4 separate regions of the Homo sapiens genome follow, and regions 2, 3 and 4 are each linked to region 1. Evidence: promoter capture Hi-C in human tissues and cell types (Jung and others, 2019). All regions are on one chromosome and are shown on one strand. The core of a region is centred on a gene start or on the middle of the fragment in contact, and the rest is flanking DNA. Distances in the headings are between cores, read along the strand shown. Region 1 holds the start of SOAT1 (sterol O-acyltransferase 1). Region 2 overlaps ABL2 (ABL proto-oncogene 2, non-receptor tyrosine kinase). Region 3 overlaps FAM20B (FAM20B glycosaminoglycan xylosylkinase). Region 4 overlaps ABL2 (ABL proto-oncogene 2, non-receptor tyrosine kinase).

The links. Contacts are between HindIII fragments. The study calls those that stand out against the background at their distance.
Region 2: a fragment that was not itself captured here is called in contact with the fragment with the promoter of SOAT1 in region 1 in 6 of the 25 tissues and cell types used here (IMR-90 fibroblasts, aorta, heart left ventricle and 3 more).
Region 3: a fragment that was not itself captured here is called in contact with the fragment with the promoter of SOAT1 in region 1 in 1 of the 25 tissues and cell types used here (bladder).
Region 4: a fragment that was not itself captured here is called in contact with the fragment with the promoter of SOAT1 in region 1 in 1 of the 25 tissues and cell types used here (mesendoderm cells).

What each region holds. Positions count from the first base shown.
Region 1 is chr1:179,290,775-179,296,344 of GRCh38, forward strand. It overlaps SOAT1 (sterol O-acyltransferase 1), which reads left to right and starts at 3,023. Exons shown (of 16, transcript NM_003101.6): 1 at 3,023-3,162. RefSeq lists a silencer at 2,818-3,007 and an enhancer at 3,220-3,727. The HindIII fragment of the contact is 6,238 bases long and covers 1,933-5,570 here.
Region 2 is chr1:179,141,418-179,147,114 of GRCh38, forward strand. All of the region lies in intron 1 of ABL2 (ABL proto-oncogene 2, non-receptor tyrosine kinase), which reads right to left. Among named protein-coding and RNA genes, the nearest start is that of TOR3A, 62 kb to the left of the region's middle. RefSeq lists an enhancer at 1,226-2,425. The HindIII fragment of the contact is 9,613 bases long and covers 1-5,697 here.
Region 3 is chr1:179,048,090-179,053,188 of GRCh38, forward strand. FAM20B (FAM20B glycosaminoglycan xylosylkinase) reads left to right here. Exons shown (of 8, transcript NM_014864.4): 3 at 2,190-2,276. Among named protein-coding and RNA genes, the nearest start is that of FAM20B, 25 kb to the left of the region's middle. The HindIII fragment of the contact is 3,652 bases long and covers 790-4,441 here.
Region 4 is chr1:179,102,978-179,108,044 of GRCh38, forward strand. ABL2 (ABL proto-oncogene 2, non-receptor tyrosine kinase) reads right to left here. Exons shown (of 12, transcript NM_007314.4): 12 at 1-5,067. The coding sequence ends at 4,741. Among named protein-coding and RNA genes, the nearest start is that of TOR3A, 23 kb to the left of the region's middle. The HindIII fragment of the contact is 5,184 bases long and covers 1,099-5,067 here.

The sequences.
Region 1 (5,570 bases), core at 1,773-4,272:
GTGGTGGGAGAGGCTTGGAGTCTGAGCACAGGCTTTGGAGTCCCTCCAATCATATATCATCTTTGCCCTTGCACTAAATGGTATCCCCATCCTCTCAATTGCTTAAGGAAACAACCTGGGAGTCATCTCGTTTACTACCTTTCTTCACACCTGCACCTCGGGAAAATATCCTGAAATCTTTCAATTTCTATTTCCACACCAACCAGCCTAGTCCAGGTACCACCATCTACCCCCTGAACTTGCCCAATAACTTTGTATTGTTCTTCGGCTCCTTTTTGTTCCATTGCTGCTCCCTTCAAGTCATTCTCTATAAAATAGGTTGATTTAAAAAAAAAAATAAACCAATGGCCGGGCACGTGGCTCATGCCTGTAATCCCAGCAGTTTGGGAGGCTGAGGCGGGAGGATCACTTGAGCCCAGGAGTTCAGGACCAGCCTGGGCAACACAGCGAAACCCTGTCTCTACAAAAAATACAAAAATTAGTCTGGTGTGGTGACGCCCACCTGTAGTCCCAGGTACTAGGGAGGCTGAGGTGGGAAGATGACTTAGCGAGCCTGGGGAGGTAGAGGATGCAGTGAGCCCTGATTGCACCACTGCACTCCAGCCTGGGCGACAGAGTGAGACCCCATCTCAAAACAACAAAAACCCAAACCCTTCATTATCTTGCCTTTGCACTTAACAGATAAATCCAAACAACGTGATTAGGTTCCTGCTTAATGCTCCAAACTCAACTTCAAACCCCTATTTGACATGCTCAAGCCTCCTGGCCTGTTCCTCAAACAGCCACGCTTCAGCATCAGCCACAGTTCAGCATCGGGGCCTTGACACCCATTATCCTCTGTCTAGAATGTTCTTCCTCCCCATGGTTGGCTTGGCTGGCTCCTTCTTGTCATTTAGGTCTTAGCTCCTGAATTATCTCCTCAGAAAATCCTTCCCTGACCATTCTGTTTTGTTTTCTGCTCAGTACTTATCACTGCCAGTGATTATCTCATCTATTCGTTTTATTATTTATATTCTTCATTAGAAACATAAGCTTTTGTTGTTTGAGACAGAGTCCCACTGTGTTGACCAGGCTGCAGTGCAGTGGCATGATTTTTTGGCTCACTGCATCCTCCGTCCCTCACCCCCCATCCCCCACCACAAGCAATCCTCTTATCTCAGCCTCCCGAGTAGCTGGGACCATAGGGGCCTGCCACAATTCCCAGCAAATTTTGTTGTCATTGTTGTTGTTGTTGTTGTTGTTTTTAAATTCTGTAGAGAGGGAGTCTCACTATGTTGCTCAGGCTGGTCTTGGACTCCTGGCCTCAAAGTGATCCTCCTGCCTCAGCCTCCCAAAGTGCTGGGATTATAGGCTTGAGCCACCTGTTTGTTTCCTTTCATACCTAGTCCTGCAGAACATAAGCCTCTAAGTGCAGGGGCTTCTTCTGTTTATTCACCACTGTATTTCTAGCACCAAGAATACTATCAATATTTTTTGAATGAATGAATCAAACAGTGAAAAGGCCAGTCATCTTGGTGTATATAGAAGGTAGCCAACAGAGACCCAATAGAAATGAGTGCCTATGTTCCTACTGCTCTATAACTAGTGGGAGTGGGGAGGGGAAGCAGCTGGGGGTCTACCAGACCCTGTCACCAACTAGTCAGCACACGTGGCAATCACAGTTGTAGAAGAGGCCAAACGGAGCAGATCTGCCAATGACAGCCAGTACTAAACTCGACTGGATGCTGAGGGCCATTTCTGCTTTGAGTGAACAGTGCAGCCTGCTGGGTGGCCAAGGGAACGTGTACAAATCCACTTTGTTTAAAGGACCCAGAGAGTAGTCAGTTCTGCTAAACCTCATCTGTTTGTTCAGGGATTTTTGTCCTGGGGAGGAGTGGGGAAGAAGCGATTAGTCAGGCCAGGCTAGCTGGTATTAGTTTGCAGGCTGTGAGTGCGACTCTTCAGTCTCTGCTCCTCTCATCATTGCCTTTTCACCTACCTTTACCCTAAATTTACGTACACCTCTGCCTTCACAAATTCCAAGCGATTAACTGTTGTATTTAATCTCTGTCCCAAATCTCTCTGCATCATTCTTCTTTTGATTATGAAGTCACGAGGGCCCTTTGTTTATTTTATTTTTAAAACTTTTTTTGAGAAGGAGTTTAGCTCTTATTGCCCAGGCTGGAGTGCAATGGCACAATCTAGGCTCACTGCAACCTCTGGCTTCCGGGTTCAAGCAATCCTCCTGCCTCAGCCTCCCGAATAGCTGGGATTACAGGCGCGCGCCACCAAGCCCGGCTAATTTTTTGTATTTAGTAGAGACGGGGTTTCACCATGTTGGTCAGGCTGGTCTCGATCCTAACCTCAGGTGACCCAGCCACCTCGGTCTCCCAAAGTGTTGGGATTACAGGCGTGAGCCACCGCACCTGGCCTCAAGGGCCCTTAAATATTACTTAGTTGTTCCATTATTTGGTGTGTTTTATTATTTGGTGCAGGTTTTTTCCCCTTATCTAGTTTGAATGTTGCTGAAGGACGCTGGTTTTCAAACGGTAAGGAATCTCCTGATAAAGGCACGAATCTTGGTGTGCAGATAAGCCAGCGATTCTTGCTTCTGGCTAGTTCTACGTTGTTCCTGGATGGTCAGTTCAAACTGCAATGATCCACAGCTCCAGAAGCGGCTTCTTCCAGTCGGCCTAGGAGCCAAACGCCCCTGCAGCTCCATGCTACCACGCAGGGTGCCGTTTCGGGCTTGCAGGGAGTTGTCGCAGTCCCGTTTTGGCTGCACATTCTACTGCTGGGGTGGAAGTGTCAAGCAAGATGTTGTCGCCGGTATCATGATGTCCGGGTGAGAAGCTTCCTTGGCAGGTTGCCAGGGCCAGCCTGCGAGCACTGGCGCCGGGGACCCGCGCGCCCGGGAAGGGGCGGGGAGGTGGGCGGAGCCTGGCAACCTGGGGACCACCAATAGGATGCTCAGCCGGAGGTGGCCCTGCGCGTGACGCAGCGGTGCTCGGAGGCAGGGGGCGTAGGGGCCGGGCTGTCCGGCGCTTTAGCTTAGCAGGCGACGTTGCGGGCCCTGGGCGCCAGGAGAGCTTCCCGGAGTCGACCTTCCTGCTGGCTGCTCTGTGACCGCTTCCCGGCTCTGCCCTCTTGGCCGAAGTGCCCGCTGCCGGGCGCGGGCCTCAGGTAACGGTGGTGCTCCCGCGCCTCTCCTCGCTTCCCGCTTGGGTCCACCGGCCTCAGCCCGCGGGGAAGGGAGAAGCGGTGGCGGCAGCAGCTCCGGCCCGGCCTTGTCCTGGGCTGTGCTGCGGAGAAGGCGAGGCTCGGCGACTGCAGGGGAGTTGGGGAGGGGAGGGCGGGAAAGTTACCGTCAGGCGCCCGGGTCACGGGCAGCCTTTTAAACCCTGCACGCTGGTTTGGTGTTCCGCAAATCTCGTGGCATCTCTCAAGTCAGTAGTAAAGAAAGTTAGGAATTAGAAGACGTTTTATTCTTTAAAAAGCGAAACCAAAAATGCACTCAGGAAGTCAGCTTTTTAATGATTTAGAGAAAATGTGTGAAGGGAAGGATGGTATTAGCAAGACATGAAAATCTGTAGGGGCACCAGAACCTTTAATCAAGCTCATGTTTTATTGTAAAATATTAGGATGTAGGTAAGTTTCTGTTTTCCCTAAGTGTTAATGGTCATGTAATTTAAATAATATGTATATTGAAAGGTTATTTCTAAGTGAGAAACAACTATATAAACTTTATTCTCCGTATATATATTTAGGTTAAGTTCGTTGGTCACTTTTGTTTGTTTGAGACGGAGTCTCGCTGTGTCGCAAGGCTGGAGTGCAGTGGCGCAATCTCGGCTCACTGCAACCTCTGCCTCCCGGGTTCAAGCGATTCTTGTGCCTCAGCCTCCTGAGTAGCTGGGATTACAGGCGTGCGCCACCACGCCCAGGTAATTTTTGTAGTTTTAGTAGAGACGGGGTTTCACCATGTTGGACCAGGTTGGTCTCAAACTCCTGACCTCAAGTGATCCGCCCGCTTCGGCCTCCCAAAGTGCTGGGATTACAGGCGTGAGCCACCGCGCCTGGCCTGTTGGTCACTTTTTAATATTTAAGTGGCTGCCACCTGTTTAAACCACTTTTTTCTTTTTTTCAGCCTGCTTGATTTCCTCTTCCTTGAAGTAGAATTCAATTTGAAGCTTTTTTTTTTTCTTTTTAAAAGTTGGGCGGTGTCAGTGAATGACTTGTTAAGGAAGTCTGTGCGTTGTCTGGGTGTGAGAATGGGTTTTGGAAGGAGCTCTGTGGCACTGAATTATCGTTTAGAAATGCACGTGTTTTAGTGAATCACATGCTTAGAATGCATCTGAGGTTTCGCAGTCTTTTAGGATAAAGACCTACTGAGTGAGCACACTCTATCTCTGGTTCATTTGGCCCACTTTCCTTCTGGCTTTCCAGGTTCATGCCACACTGGCTTTATTTTTGTTACTGGAAAGCTTCATTTTCTTTCCTCTCTTGGCTTTTAGGAGTTTCCTCCACCTCTAATGCTGTATTCTCTCCCTCCCTCCAACTCTTATACCTGCCTCAGATATCAGCCCACATATCACTTCCTCTGGAAATCACCCCATCCCCATTAAGCCCTCCATGAACTCTTTATTCTCCTTAGCAGAAGTTGATCATTAATTGTAATGAATTAGTTGCTTTGTTTCCTCTGCTAGTGCATTTCATGAAGGCTGGTTTAGCCTGTTGTAATTTTCAGGGTCTGGTCCAGCACTTGGCCCAGAGAAAGAATGAATAAGTTGGTGGACAGAGGAAGGAACTTTTGAATGAGAAATACAGTGATCCCCACTTAACTGCTTTCTGTAGTTTCAGCTACCTGAGGTGCGAAACAGAGTACAATAAGACATTTCGAGAGATACCATGTTCAAGTGAATTTTAATACAGTATATTGTTAATCTCTTACTGTGCCTAACTTTTTGAAACTTTGCCTCCCAGGTTCAAGGGATATTCATGCCCCAGCCTCCCAAGTAGCTGGGATTACAGGCGTGTCCCAGTACGCCCGGCTAATTTTTTTTTTTTTTTTTGAGATGGAGTTTGGCGCTTGTTGCCCAGGCTGGAATGGCACGATCTCGGCTCCCCGCAACCTCCGCCTCCCGGGTTCAAGCGATTCTCCGCCTCAGCCTCCCAAGTAGCTGGGATTACGGGCATGTGCTACCACGCCCGGCTAATTTTTTTTTTTTTTTTTTTTTTTTTTTTTTTTTTTAGTAAAGACTGATCAGATCTTACTGGTCAGGCTGGTCTCGAACTTCCAACCTCAGGTGATCCACCCGCCTCAGCCTCCCAAAGTGCTGGGATTACAGGCGTGAGCCACCGCGCCCAGCTCACCCGGCTAATTTTTGTATTTTTAGTAGAGACAGGGAGGGTTTCACTGTGTTGGCCAGACTGGTCTCAAACTCCTGATCTCAGATGATCGGTCTGCCTCGGCCTCCCAAAGAGGTGGGATTACAGGCGTGAGCCACTGTGCCCAGCCTGTAAATGAAACTTTATAATAGGTATGTATAGGAAAAAACAACGTGTATTGGGTTCACTGTTATTCACAGTTCTAG
Region 2 (5,697 bases), core at 2,921-5,420, 150 kb before region 1:
AAGTCAACTTCCTGAAAGTTGTGTTATCTGACAAAAGGAGAAAACAGAATGAGATCTACAGCACGATTTTATGTAAATTTAGAAGATATATGCAGGCCAAACAATATTATATTTCTGAAATATGTAAAGTAATAACTATAGGATAAAAGTAATTTTTGAGGCCAAAGTACTAAAAGAACCACAACTTAGAAAACAATCCTTCTTATTCCCCATTCCCCTTCTTCCCGTCTCTGGTTTTACGGTCTTTTTGGTTGAGTCAAAAGATCTTATTTCCTTCCTTTCTTCTTTCTTCCCACTCCTCTTTTGTTCTCAAAGAACTTAGGGTCAATTTCCTGCACAATCTGTCTGCACAGGATATCCACTTAAACACCATTCTACCCATTAGCACCAAACAAAAGGAAAACTTTTTCAAAGAGAAAAACACCCTAACATTTTTCTGAAGCTAAGAACGAACATATTTTGAATCATAAAGAGTAAGGGAACTAAATGAGGGGGAACAAGATAAGGGATAAAGGCAAAAACAAAAGAAAACAAAAGCCTGTGGGAAGAGCAAGTAAATGTCAGTGTTACCCAGTAGCTATAGTCTATGTCACTTTCCTCATTGGTTAAGACAGACATGTCTGGATGATTCAGATGTACTGTATACGCCCAAATGCAAGTGTGTGGGCTGGGAATGGTTTATTTTTGAACAAAATGAAATGACTACTATAAATTAGGTAACTTAGATATCAAGTTAACTTATCTTCCATTATTCACTGCTATAGAGGTAGATCAGAGATTTAAGATGGGATAAGAGAAGACTGATTTTCACTCACATGTAAAGAACCTAGATAACAGAAATATATTATCACAATTTAAAAAAGGCATTTTTTTTCTATTGCTACAGTTGCAGGCTACAACAAAAATAAAGCAAAACAGAATAGCCACTTGTACAAAGTAAATTATCATGATTGAAAAAGTTAAAACCCAAAATAATAAAACTGAAATTGAGAAAATTCCTAAGCTTCATGTTTAATTTTATTAAAAATACTTTTCACCAGTTAGTCATTCAGTAACTTTTATCAGTTTAATTAGAAATTTGTCAGGTAGTAATAGGAGAAATTAATATTACAAATTTTTAGTTTAGGCATTTTCAAGTATTTTATAAACATTATCTTGCCAGAATTCTACTTTATCTGACTGTATATTCTCTAAGAAGCTAATAAGTTTTAATAACTTCTTTTAAAAATTATGTAAGGTAAATTATTCAACAGTTTTCAATATAGCTTAAGTTCTTCACATCAAGCCATCTATATCTTATTATTACAAAATACTACATATTATCCATACATTCTTCCATTCAGTATTTATTGAGATCCTACTATGAGATATTCCCCCAAGAAAGCACACAAACTTTCACTGACCAAGAATGAAGACAAAAACAGTAGCAGATAAGATGAATTTTTTGAAATCTTCATTCACACTTGATTAATGTGGTTATCAAGCCTCCCTGAAACTATCAACTCTGAACCATACCTGTTAAGTCGGGTAGAGCAGATTCTGAGGCCTCAGTGCACAGGCAGCAAAGTGAAGTGTCCTGATCTCTGCCATAACTATTAGGTGGAAGGAGAACTGTCCCAAGGACCATACCTCTGCCCAGAAGCACAAAAGTTAAACTGTTCTGTGTAAAGAGGAAGTCTTAGAATTCCATTCTCTGACAAGCAATACCACATGCATGTGACATTTACTCATGTACTCAGTGGCCAGAGGGAACCAATAAAATGGTGAGCATTCACAATTCCCAAAGTGGGTGGAGAGTGACCTAAAGGAAAATTTCCAGCAATCCGCAAAAGACTGAGTCAGAATGGAGTTACTTCAAAATCTCTGAGAACACTTTTAAAATGTAAGTAAAATAAAAACCAACATATATATGTATAACAAATAGCCTAATAATAAAACAATGTAGAAGTTAATATATCTCTATTTTATAGGGAGATGATGAGGTGAGACTAGAGAGAAAAGTTTCCTTGGAGAAAATCTGTTTACAATAAAACACGAAATACACTTTTAAAAGAAAGGAAACGCCTAACAAGACTCATCTTTTACATCACTTAAATAGTTCAAGAAACCACAAAGCCAAAGTCAAAGAAATAGCTGTGATCTGATTCATGAGCACAGAAGCCAAGAAATAACTGCCTTTGCTAACAATCTGGCTCTATAGCTTAATAAAGGTTAAAAACATGGCAATATAGTGTTGAAAACTTTTGAGTGTTAAAAGTTTATTTACTTATTTATTTTTATTTACTTATTTATTTTTTGAGACGGAGTCTCGCTCTGTCGCCCAGGCTGGAAGGCAGTGGCGCGATCTCGGCTCACTGCAACCTCTACCTCACGGGTTCAAGTGATTATCCTGCCTCAGCCTCCCAGGTGACTGCGATTACAGGCGCCCGCCACCACGCCCAGCTAATTTTTTGTATTTTTAGAAGAGACGGGGTTTCACTATGTTGGCCAGGCTGGTCTCAAACTCCTGACCTCGTGATCCACCTGCCTCAGCCTCCCAAAGTGCTAGGATTACAGGCATGAGCCACCATGCCCAGCCTGAGTGTTAAAAGTTTTTAAAGCAAAAAGCCCAATCTTTGTTAATAAACAGGAACAAAGTTAAAGAAAATTTAAAAACCTGAAAATGATAGTACTTTATGAGAATTAAACTAGTAAAACCTACAAATAATACATGACTTTAATGTATGATCTACAAAAATAATATTAAAGAGCGTTTGTAGGCCAGGGGCGGTGGCTCACGCCTGTAATCCCAGCACTTTGGGAGGCAGAGGTGGGTGTATCACAAGGTCAGGAGATCGAGACCATCCTCCTGGCTAACACAGTGAAACCCCACCTCTACAAAAAATACAAAAAATTAGCCCGGCATGGTGGCGGGCGCCTGTAGTCCCAGCTACTCGGGAGGCTGAGGCAGGAGAAAGGCATGAACCCAGGAGGTGCAGCTTGCAGTGAGCCAAGATCGCGCCACTGCACTCCAGCCTGGGCGACAGAGCGAGACTCCATCTCAAAAAAAACAAAAAAAAGAGTGTTTGTTTAACTGTGTATCTGAGAACACTCATTCACTCAATAAATATTTATTAAGCACCTACTATGTACCAGCCCCTGTTCTAGGTCAATATAAGTAACAGGGTAAGATAATAGGATGACAGGACTGAAACAGCCTTAGAGAAAATTGAAAAATAAAATGGTAACTTAACCTTATTAGAGAAAGAATAACTTTAATGTAGGTAATTATTAACTATTTAAAATAACAAAGCTTATGTTTTCAATAAAATTATCCTTTATAAAGCCAGTACTTTCAACATCAAGGGACAAATAAAAGAGTTAGATGACTAAAGGTTACCACAATTATGACTAAGAATTTCAAATACCAGATTGAATATCTCATTCTCCGGATTATAGAAAAAAAGGTATGGGAAAGGATCTTCATCATCCACATTCTATCCATATGTAGACTCTATACCATATGGTTTACTATTTAATCAATAAATCTTCTATTTAAATTACCAATAATTAGTAGTTACATTTTCAATTACTTATAGCATAATTTGGAATAAAGAGGAGATAAATGGATAAACAAAAGGTGGTCTATACATATAATGAAGTATTATTTAGCCATAAAAAGAATGAAATGTTGATATATGCTACAATGTAGATGGGCCTTGAAAATATGATGCTAAGTGAAATAAGCCAGACACATCAAGGCAAATATTATATAATTCTACTTACATGAAATATTTAGAATTTTTCTAGTTCTGGAAGTCTAGTTCTGCAAATGGATGGCTATACAACATTATGAATATATTTAATCCTACTAAACTGTACATCTACGAATAGTTAAAATAGTAAATTCTGATACTTTGTCATAATTAAAAATTAAAATTACTAAGGTCTCCAAAGGCCTTTTGTTTATGTTATAGCTATCAGTATTTACTATATTTGAAATTAAACCTGAAATTTTAATGAGAAATTTGAATACCTATTAATTCTAAAATAACAATAAACCCATTATGTTAATAACATATTTTTACCAAAAAGAAAACTATTTTCAAAAAAGAATTAAGAAGATAAGAGTAGCATTTTCAGTTTTTGCAAATCTCTTTAATAGGCTGAGGTGGAAAAGTGCATTACTTTAATGAACGTGACAAACTAAGGCCAGAAGCAAAAGAAGAATCTAAGCAAAGATGAGGAGGAGCGGGGGCATTCTGAGTAGACAATGTAGCAAGTTCAATGCAAAAACTCTGAGGTAGGAAAAGAACCTGGTATGTACAGGAAATAAGAAGTGTGGCTACTGTTACGGAAGTCAAAAGATGAGCATGAAACAAAGTAAGGTAGACAGGGGCTGGCCAAATCAAGTGCTTAGGGATTTAGGATTCTATTCCAAGTGCAATGGAAATCCAGTGAACAGTTTTAAGCAGGATGGCCATATGGTCTGATCTCCATTTTTTTTTTTTTTTTGAGACAGGGTCTTGCTCTGTCTCCCAGGCTGGGGTGCAGTGGCGTGATCTTGGCTCACTACAACCTCCACCTCCCAGGTTCAAGCGATTCTCCTGCCTCAGCCTCCTGGGTAGCTGGGATTACAAGGTGTGCACCACCATGCCTGGCTAATTTTTGTATTTTTAGTAGAGATGGGGTTTTGCCATGTTGGCCAGGCTGCTGATTTCCATTTTTTAAAAGACCATTATTACATGAAAAAAAATGAATTACATTGAGAACCAAATTAGAAGCAGAAAACTATGCAGTAGTTCAGCAATGGGATCATGTTGGCTTAGAATAGGATGGTGGCAGTGGAGACAAAGAAAAGTGGAAGAACTTAACGATATGGTTTGAAGAGGGAATCAACAGGGCTTGCAGATTACTTGGATACAACATAAGAGAGAAGGAGAAAATAAAGAACGGCTGCCAGGTTTTAGGCTTAACTGTAACTGGGTAGATGGCCATGTAATTCACTGAGAAGCAGCAGTAGCACAGGTTGAGTATACCTTATCCAAAACACTTGAGACCTGAAGTGTTTCAGGTTTAAAATTTTTTCAGATTTTAGAATATGTGCATATATATAATGAGATATCTTGAGGTTGAGTCCCAAGTGATATGGTTTGGCTGTGTCCCTACCCAAAATCTCATCTTGAATTGTAATCCCCATAAATCCCTACGTGTCAAGGGCAGGATCAGGCGGAGATAATCGGATCATGGAGGCATTTTCCCCCATGCTGTTCTCGTGATGGTGAGTCTCACAAGATCTGATGATTTTATAAGCGTCTGGCATTTCCTCTCCTTGTACTCACTCCATCCTGCCACCCTGTGAGGAAGGTGCCTGTTTCTCCTTTGCCTTCTGCCATGAGGAAAAAGGAAAGGAAAAAGATATATCACCCCAAAATATGTCTCTGACATAAAAATTATTTTTGAGCCTAAAGCAATGAATAGGGGAAAAGCTCTCCATATCCTCTTGCTTTTCTACCTAAAGACAGGATACAAATTCTCCTTTACTGGTGACAACTATAGACTCTTATCAGCCCAGAGATGGCCTGAGCCTGGGAGGTTGAGGCTGTAGTGAGCCAAGATCACAGCACTGCACTCCAGCCCACATGACAGAGCCAGACCCTGTCTTTAAAAAAAAAAAATTTAAAAAGTAGGCTAAGAACATGAACAGACATTTTCCAA
Region 3 (5,099 bases), core at 1,366-3,865, 240 kb before region 1:
ATTTTTTTTTTAATGTAGCTATTTCCATTCTAGAAGTAATTGATTTTCACAGGCAAAAACAGCAGTTATGTTGGAAAAAGAACAAGAAGGCAGGGGCCTAGAAGCGCGTAGAAGTGAATGAGTAATCTCAGGAAGTACTAAAAGGGACCTTGGAGATCAGCTAGTCCAACTGTCCATTTTACAGGTGAGAAAAATGAGATCCAGAATTCTGATTTTCCATATTTCACATAACCAAAACATGAGCTGAGGATTCAGGCCTGACTTCAGTGTAGTTCTTTTGATTCTTATTCCTTTTCTCTTCCCTCCATCTTTTCCTCTCCTGCCCACTCCCAAAGTTCCTGTATTCCTCTAAGCTTTTGCATTTTACTCTGCGCAGCCTTTAGATGGATTGGAAAGCTCTCTAATGTTTCACTGAAAGGACCATACTGCACTTCACCACATACCTTCCTGTGGCTGCCCTGAAGTACTAAAAATAAAGTATTCAAGGATAGCCTACATCTGTAGTAGAACAGTACCTGAATAGTGTCAGCTTTTTGCTGCAGGGGTATTTCAAATTTGACTTTTAATTTAGAGGTAGCTAATATAAACCTTTTAAAAAATTATTCCTAAGTAATCCTTTGCACTAGGAACAAACAAACAAAAAATTACATTTGGGTATATTGACCATGCTAAGAAGAAACTGGTGCCCAACCAGAAGGTGATACATGGCTGTCTTCTAACAAATGCTTCATCATTTTGCCTTGAAGATATATTTTGTGGATATGATTTCACTTTATATTCTAAGGTCATTTAAGTTGAAGTTCACTGCCTTTTATAGTACTGTTTTCCACTTCCCTATTGCTGTTTTAGCATGAGAGAGCCAACTATCCTTAGTGGAACCTCTCTTCTCCACATCACTCTCAATTTATTTCTATTTCATAGGTCCATTGTAAAGCCTAAAAGGTCTCCTTTAGATTCAGGAAATGCAGGAGACCAATAGAGAGGACATAGGTGAATTAAGTACTTTTTTCTTCCTAATTAACAGATTTAAATTCTATCTTTTAAAATGGTTAGTAGAAAGAAATATGCCAGTCTTCATTATCCTTTGCTTATGTCATACATGTGATAGAAAATCATCAGAATGCAGTCTGAGATGAAAGAGACCTTAGAAATTACCTCCTAGTCCAGCCCCTAATATTGTAAGTAAGGAATCTGAGACCCAGAGAAGAGAAAGGTTTTGCTCAAGCTTACCCAGTCAAGTAATGACAGCCACACCAACCTCCCACTGCCAGTCCAGGACTCCTTGTAGTACGTCATCATAAACTTAAAAAAAAAGAACAAGAATGGTTATTCAAACAACTTTTTTCAAAAGCGCTGTTGCCTTCCCATTAACAAAGATTGAGTTATATCAGACTATTTTCCCCCAAATTTAAATTTCTCTTATAAGCTTTGCCACAGCCATTCTGGTAAGCAAAAGTTTTTTGTTTTTTGAGACAGAGCCTCACTCTGTTGCCCAGGCTGGAGTGCAGTGGCACAGTCTCGGCTCACTGCAACCTCCGCCTCCCAGGTTCAAGCGATTCTCCTGACTCAGCCTCCTGAGCAGCTGGGATTACAGGCATTCACCACCACACCCAGGTAATTTTGGTGTTTTTTAGTAGAGATGGGGTTTCGCCATGTTGGCCAGGCTGTTCTCGAACTACCGACCTCAGGTGATCCACCCATCTTGGCCTGCCAAAGTGCTGGGATTACAGGTGTGAGCCACCGTGCCTGGCCAGCAAAAGTTTTAATTACACATTTTTCTTCATTTCTTCAGGTCAGTCTAATAAACATTTTAGTAGACATTTATTAAGCACCAACTATGTGCTTAACACTGTGCTGGCAATACAAAGACAGTCCTTGCCTTCCAGAAAACTACCTTTTATCTGTACTAAAACTACATCAAAAGCCCTTTAGTGGGGCAAAAATGACAGCTTCCATGTTTTATTCTTAGAATGATTGGTGACGTAGATAGAGAATTCTAGTTTCCTTCTCTACCTCATCTTCATTCCATCTACCGGCAATTCATGCTAATCCACAGTTGTTTGCAGGGTTGACAGAGAAGGTGACTATAGCAGAATCAGGCTTGCTAATGGGTGTATTCTACCACTTGTGCTGTCACCTGTTACTGGTGTAATCCACGTATACATCTGTGCTTCCCATTCACTTTGCAGGTATAGCCGAGACCATGTGGTGGAAGGGGAACCGTATGCTGGTTATGATAGACACAATGCAGAGGTAGCAGCCTTTCACTTGGACAGGTGCGTATGATCACAGCAGCTTATGTTCATTTTGTTTGCTTTCAAAAATCTTTCTTGGAGAGGACTCGTGGACTCCTTCAGAAGGATGCAACACTAATAAATAACTTGTTATCGATTTTAGATAGCTAATTGACTAGTTCCATTAAACTTGTATGAGTCTCATAATTTGGTTGGCACCAGGAATACTGAAGTATTTTACTTCCATGCTTCTTTAGGTCATTTCATTTCTGGCCTGCTCTGTTATTATCATCAGTGAAGATATTCTTGGTAAATAAACTTTGAACTTAAATCTCTGAATTGAACTGGTCGTTAATTGGGTCTAGCCATCCTGTTGTTTTGTTATGTATTTGTTTTAAGTAAGTAATGCTGACTTATTTCCATGTGCTGGAAACATATAGCATGAAATATGAGTTTTATTATTCTTTATACAAACTATGCACAGCTTCAAAAACCAGAATAATTACAAAAGGAAAGGGCCAGGCGTAGTGGCTCATGCCTGTAATCCCAACACTTTGGGAGGCCAAGGTGGGCAGATTGCATGAGCTCAGGAGTTCGAGACCAGCCTGGGCAACATGGTGAAACCCCGTCTCTACTAAAATACAAAAAATTAGCTGGGCGTGGTGACAGGCACCTGTAGTCCCAGCTTCTTGGGAGGCTGAGGCAGGAGAATCGCTTGAACCCAGGAGGCACAGCTTGCAGTGAGCCGAGATCGTGCCACTGCACTCCAGCCTGGGCGACAGAGCGAGACTCTGTCTTTAAAAAAAAAAAAAAAGGAAAGAAAATAGATGTGAATTATAAGTTTGTAAGTTAACTAGGAAAATTCTTTTTTTTTCTTTTTCAGCAGGTTACTAGTCAGGAACCTTGCAGCTGAACTGTCTGGTATCCCAGTTACTCTGCTGACCAGCTCTTTCATAAGGCCATATTGGCTGACTTTAAAAGAAACTGCTAACAATATTTGTTTTAAAAAATTAATTTATGACTGGATGCAGTGGCTCATACCTGTAATCCCAACACTTTAGGAGGCTGAGGTGGGCAGATCACTTGAGCCCAGGAGTTCAAGACCAGCCTGGACAACATGGAGAAGCCCCGTCTCTACTAAAAAAATACAAAAATTAGCTGAGTGTGGTGGCGTGTGCCTATAGTTCCAACTAGTGGGGAGGCTGAGGAGGGAGGATTGCTTGAGCCTGGGAGGTCGAGGCTGCAGTGAGCTGTGATCACACCACTGCACTCCAGCCTGAGCAACAGAGTGGGACCCTGTCTCAATAAAATAAAATAAAATAATAAATAAATTTTTTTTCTGAGACAGAGTCTCACTCTGTCCTCCAGACTGGAGTGCAGTAGCCTGATCTTGGCTTACTGCAACCTCGACGTCCTGGGTTCAAACAGTTATCCTGCCTCAGCCTACCGAGTAGCTGGGACTACAGGTACGCACCACCACACCCAGCTAATTTTTTGTATTTTTAGTAAACACGGGGTTTCACCATGTTGGCCAGGCTGGTCTGGAACTCCTGACTCGAGGTGATCCGCCCACCTCAGCCTCCCAAAGTGCTGGGATTACAGACGTGAGTCACCACGCCCAGCCTAAAAATGAATTTATAAGGAAACCAGAAAAAAAAAGGTGAAATGTTTGTCTTTTTCTGAATTAGGATTTTGTAAACATAAAAGCAATAACTTAAAAATCACAAATTCAATAGTCTTGACTAAATAAAATAATGAACTTATATAGCAAGAGACAAAATTTAAAAGCAAACAACAAACGGAGAAAACACTTGAATCTAATGTAATCTGAGTATTAATAGCCTTAATATGTGTTTATACAAATATTAATGGTCTTAATATGTGTTTATACAAACATATGTATGTTAAAACTCTATTAGAAAATGGGTTAAGAGTATAAACATTGTCAATTGCTAATAAATATGTGGGGTGGGGGGAGGTTCATCCTCACCAGAAATTTTTAAAAATTCAGATGAGATACTGTTTTTACCTGTTGAAAATGGCAAAGCTTAAAAAAAAGATAATACTTTATTGGGAGGAATACATTGAGATTCATATGCTGCTTATGGCATTGTTAATTGTTTCAGTCTTTTTGTTAAGAACCCTAGCATTATATATCAAAATTAAGGATAAATATATCAACATTAAGGAATGTTCATATCCTTTGAACAAATAACTGCTTTTTTATACACATATCTAAGACATTTCTAGGAACTACCCTAGAGAAAGAATACAAAATTCAAAGATATATATACAACAGTCTTAGCTGTAGCATTTTCAATAGTGGGAAAACTGGTTGTAACCTAAACATCTATTGATATGGAAAAGCTTAGATATGTGTGTACAATACCATGAATTTTTGCTGCCCCTTTTAAGACCTAGTGGTGGACAGTTGGATAAATCCTTCTCCTCACTTAATGGCACACTAGAATCAGGCTTTCCAAGACCTTATCTGTTTGCCTCTTTTCTTCGTCCCCAACTCCCTTCTTCCTATCCTGTTTGTTGGAAACCAACAGGCATAAAGTTCCTCATTTCTGTACCAGTGTTTTGTATTGCCCAACACACTAAGTTTTGTTGATATATATGTAAAGTGATATTTCATTGTTATTTCATTGTTATTTTGTATTTCCCCATTACTGGCAAAGTTTATCTTTTCACAGCAGGACACCTATTTGTTATCTTAGAGTATTTGTGTACTTTTGATGTTAACTAACTATAATGTTTCAGTTTGTGACTTGGGCTTTGGGAGTCTTGTATTTAAAAGTCCTTCCCTACCTCAAAGTCTGAAAGATGTTCTCTTGCCAGTCGCCCTGTCACTTTTGTTAA
Region 4 (5,067 bases), core at 2,441-4,940, 190 kb before region 1:
GTTAAAAAAGACACTGTCAACATCAACAGATAACAAGTCTGTTCCCACCACATTTAGGATAAATGGCCAAGCATATAGTGGATAAATGGAGAAGAGTAAGAGGACCTCATCCTTCTTGAGTCAAGGTCCTTGGAAGAGCTTCTGTGTTCTGGAGTGAGTACACATTCTTACTTTTTAAAGATCGGAATTAAACCAAAAAGTTGGTCCCTAGTTTCCTGAAGTAATTCAGCTCTGAACTACAACTTTAGCAAACACTTGCTATACCTGCTCATACCTGTTAAGCAGTTTCATATTTCTAAATGTGATAAATGACAGAGGTGATTCTTACGTATCTACATTTTCAGGTACCCCACAGGGTCCATCCACATTGAATCAACTGTCTTATCTTTTAAACAGACAATACTACAACCTTATAGTTATATTACAGTTGATATTTTCTCAAAGTGCTGTCATATACATTATCTCATAGTCATTAAAATAATGTGAACAATAAAGTTTTTTTAAAGAAAAGGGAATGTAGGACTAACTAGGTTTTTTAAAAACTCAAGTTGGTATTTCTTTACTACAAAGTGCACATTGCTGTGTTGCTGAGGTCTGTCCAAAAGAATGACCCCATTGAATTTTTTAAATGACTGAATTCTACTGAGTGCTTGCTTGGCTTGTGTTCCCATTACTCCACATTCAAGCCCCTTAAGGTCAAAGTGTCAGGAGCATGTGCTTTAGAAAGTGTGCAGCACCACACAGGCTGATTGTCGGTCTGAGCCACTTTTTTGCAGTGTCTCACATGGCAGCAGGTATGGTGGAAAGACCCCACAACCATAAAGTCAAGAGACTTGAATTCTAGCCTTGGCTCCGCCACTAATTAACCGTTCTGAGACAATAGGCAAGTAATTTAACCATCTTCTGCTAGTTTCTTAATCTATAAACCAAAGGGTTGGGGTACTGATAGTTTTCAGATAGCACTGGGTGTTTCAAACACCTGGCGAGATTACTGGAGAATACACTGGCCGAGACCCCAGCCCACTGGGAATTCTGATCTGGAGTGGGGCTATTCCGTCAGTTTTTTTTGTTTGTTTTGTTTTGTTTTTTAACCCTAGGGGATTCTGCTGTGCATCCCTAGACTAGGTGTTAATAATAGTAGTAGTAGAACATTTATAGAGTGTGCTCATTGTGTGCCAGGCACTTGAGCTAAGTATCTTACAAATATCATCTCATTTAATCCTTACAACAACCCTGAGGTAGTTACTATTATTATCCCTGTTTTACAGTGAGGAAACTGAGGCTCCCAAGGTTAAATGACTTGCCTTTTAGACTGGCATTAGAGCCTAAACACTAAACCACTATCTATACTGCATCCTTTAAACTCAAAATCTCCATGACTTTAGTTAAATAAAAATGGGCAGTGCCTTAGCAAAGTCAGCATGCTTTATTACCTGGGACATATTTTACTAGCCAATTTTCAGTTGAATCCTAAGAAACTTTCTATCTAATTTAAATCTTAAAATGCTGCTGGTAAAGGGTCTCCACTATAATGACCTCTATGTACAGAGGTCATCTAGAAAAACACTGAATGAATTTCTTAGGGCCAAATTTTTTAAGGCTAATCTCTGAAAATCATGATGGAAGTCTACAGGAAAATATATACATTTAAATTTTACACAAAGCCTTTTAAGAAAATACTTTAGGTAAAGCACAATCAAGATGTATTCAACACAAATCACTGCATTTTAAAGTGGGAAATCTAAACTGAAGTAATATTATCTGTACATGAAAGGAATCAAGCAGTGGCAGCCCAAAGGCATGCATCCAGATATACAGCATAACCACTTTAGAAAACTGTCAACGCCTTGGACAAGGGCCTTTGCTCATTGCTTTTAGAATAGTTAAAATTAAACTACACTTTTCCAGAAGCAGTTCTCTCTGCTTTGGATTCAAACCTTTTAATTTACATAAGGGTTTGTGTTTAAGCTGGTCCTTTTCAAGTAGAAAAAGGAAAAACCTAAATTATGCTTGTATAGTAAGTTGACAGTGCCTCTTTAACCTGAACCTTGAGCCCTCAACCCCTGAAGTTACATAGTTCAAGCATCATGTGGACGGGGTATGCTCCAATAGTCAATGCCACTCTTGACAGTGTTGACAAAAATCAATTCCATTTATATATCGTGCACCCACTGTAGGCAAGACAGCTAGGTGCTGCCCCTGAGTAAGACACAGCCCCCACCCCCTACCCTTCAGATTGTTGTTGGGCAAGAAAACCAGGGAGCCTAAATACACTCAGTAGTGTTTCTCCAAGGCTTAGTTCCAGAACTCTCAAGGGAAAATAGAGCCCTTGCTTAAAAAACAAAAAACAAAAAAACCCTGAAAAACAATTACAATCCCTTAACTTGCATCCCACAACAACAGGGATAAACCTAAAAAGCAGCATAATAATATTCTACAGTTTTAGCTTTCCCATCCTCGACCTTAAAAGGCTAGCTGCTAAAACGAGTTCTTCAAGTTTACGGACATGTATGATGAGCAAGAATGGCAGGAAAGAAGGTGGGAGAAGGACCGCTGGTTTTTACATCTGAGTTCTCTTCCAACCACTAGGAGGAGATGAACCCAATCACTAGCTGCCTGTGCTGCAACTGCAGGTGACATACTGCGGGGATCACCCAACACCTGCCAGGAATGCCCAGCACCGCGTGTCTCCTCTAATCCTCTTAACCTGGGCCTCCTTTGGAGCAGCAATGGTAAGAATCAAGGTTTCCTTTCTTTCCAATGAAAACTCAATTTTGTTCTTGGTCAAAAATGCCAAACTCTATTCAAAACATAGTTTTCCCCTTAGTATTCTAGCCCAATTCATATAATCTCAACAATTCTTAATTTCATTAATATTTTCTACTCAGCAAATAAGATAATGGAAAACAATTCAGCATAACAACACTGCACTAAAAGAGCTTTCCAGAGAGGCTCTCCAAGGGATAGCTGCACACTTACTTGCAACACCCTTGAGAACATGTACTGTTACCTTAATTAAATAGATTAAGAGATGAGGCTGTGGTTTGACAGTGTATCAATGACAGAGCCAGAAGAAAACTCAGTGCTCAATGTTGAATTCCTATCTTCCTAAGCTAATATTCCTTTGAGAGAATAAAATAAAAATATGTGTGTATTGAGCTCTCCTTGGGGAGGATGGGGGAAGTATTCATAAAGCTTTAAAAAGAGAATGAAGCAGTAACTGGAATTAGACCCGATACCAAGAACATTAATAATACCTAACTCATTAGATTCACTTCCATGCCATCCTAATTAGCTTCCACAATTATAACTAAGGAAGGAAGGAAAAGGCCTATTTTTCAAGGGCAAAACATATTTAAGGATTAAGTCATTAGGTTCCCAGGGTCTACCTGGTGCTCCCTGAAAATGACTACTCCTTCAATTATGCATTCTTAAAATAGAAGTGAAATGACAAAATAAATAAAGAATATTCCCAATAAGATCTGTACAAATAAGCACAATGATTGGGTGGGGGAGTAGGGAGGAATATGTGAGAGAAGAAAAGCATGTGAGAATAATGTGGGGGTGATTCACTTCAAATCCATAGAGAGGAGAATGCCTCTCCCTATTCTCTACCTGGATTGGGCTTAAGGTGGTAAGGGAAGGGAAAGGTACAGAGAAACAGCCATTAGGACCAAGCCAGCTTTTCCTCTCAGTCACATACAGGCCACTGGGTTTCAAGAAAAGACCATCTCCCTGGTATTTTAGTTGATAAAGAAAAATACACAGCTGCTCAAGTCCTTGGCCAGTATGTCAGTATGCAGGGGAACTGTATCAGAACAGGATTCATTCCTTTGTGAGAACCTGTAGGGACTACTATTTTCAAAATCAACACTGGTTAATGCTCTGAATGCTACCAGGAATAAAGGAAGACAGCCTGCCCAGCAAAAGACAGAGAAGAACCACTAGGGAGACCCCTGTACTTATGGTTTACAGATAGCCACCAACAGGCAGGAAGCCGATCCTGGTCCATTATGAAATAATATACCAGACTGGGAGAAGTGACTTCTGCTAATCTGTGTAAGATTTTAGAAGGTTTTCAATTTCTGATTCAACTTTCCAGCATTCTTTACTTCCTGCACTAACTGATACACCAGCGGAAAATAGGACAGAGGCATTCAGATAGGGCCATATTTCCCAGTTTTATGTTGTAGCACTCTGATTTGCAGTTCTTATTACAGCAGCAATGGCCTTGTGGAAGCAAGGCTAACAGCTACTTCCAACAGCCCTGAACAAAAATTTCTCTTGGTACATTCCCAGCTTTCTTTTCTGCTGTCCCACCAAATTCATTAGGTAAATTGGAGCATAATCACCATTAGTACCTACCAGAGCCCCAGGTCTGGGTGCAGCTGCTGCAGTCTTGCTGAGAGCAGCCCTGCCTAGCACTTCCCAGCATTCCAGGTAGGGATGGGCTGCATTGCCTTCCTTATGACATACACATGTTCCCTATTTTCCAGTGCAGTTTCCAACCCTGTCCACTACTGCCTTGCCCCCACTTAATTTACCTCTCCTATACTTATGTGGTTTGCTTCTTATTTTTGAGATGAAACTGTAAACGTGAGAACTCAGGGATCTGAGGTACTTCACATAAACACACTCAAGTATGAGTCTTTCATTTTCTGAAAACAAGAACACAGGAAAACAAGTCCTTTTCCCTCTCCCCTCAGAAATGTGTGCATTTTCCCACCAGGCTAACAGTGGCTACCTCTGCACCACATCACTGATTTCCTGTACACATGACAATAAGTTATTAAGGACAGGGTTTGTCCCGGGCACACCAGCAGCTGCTGAAGAAACCTGTAGCTCCTGCAGGCTGAGTTCCAGTTTGCTCACAGCCTCTCGGAAGGCAAATTTGTTGCGAGTTTGAGGGATGCAGTCCACATAGCCTGAGCAGTAGTCAAGCAGCTGGTGTCCAGTGTCTACCAGCTGGCTGTTGGGCACAGGTTCCGTGAGTGCACTGGACAGTAGGTCAGCACATTCCAGCAGGGCCTCTTTGCTGATTTTGTCTGCTGAGATTTTCTCAGCGGC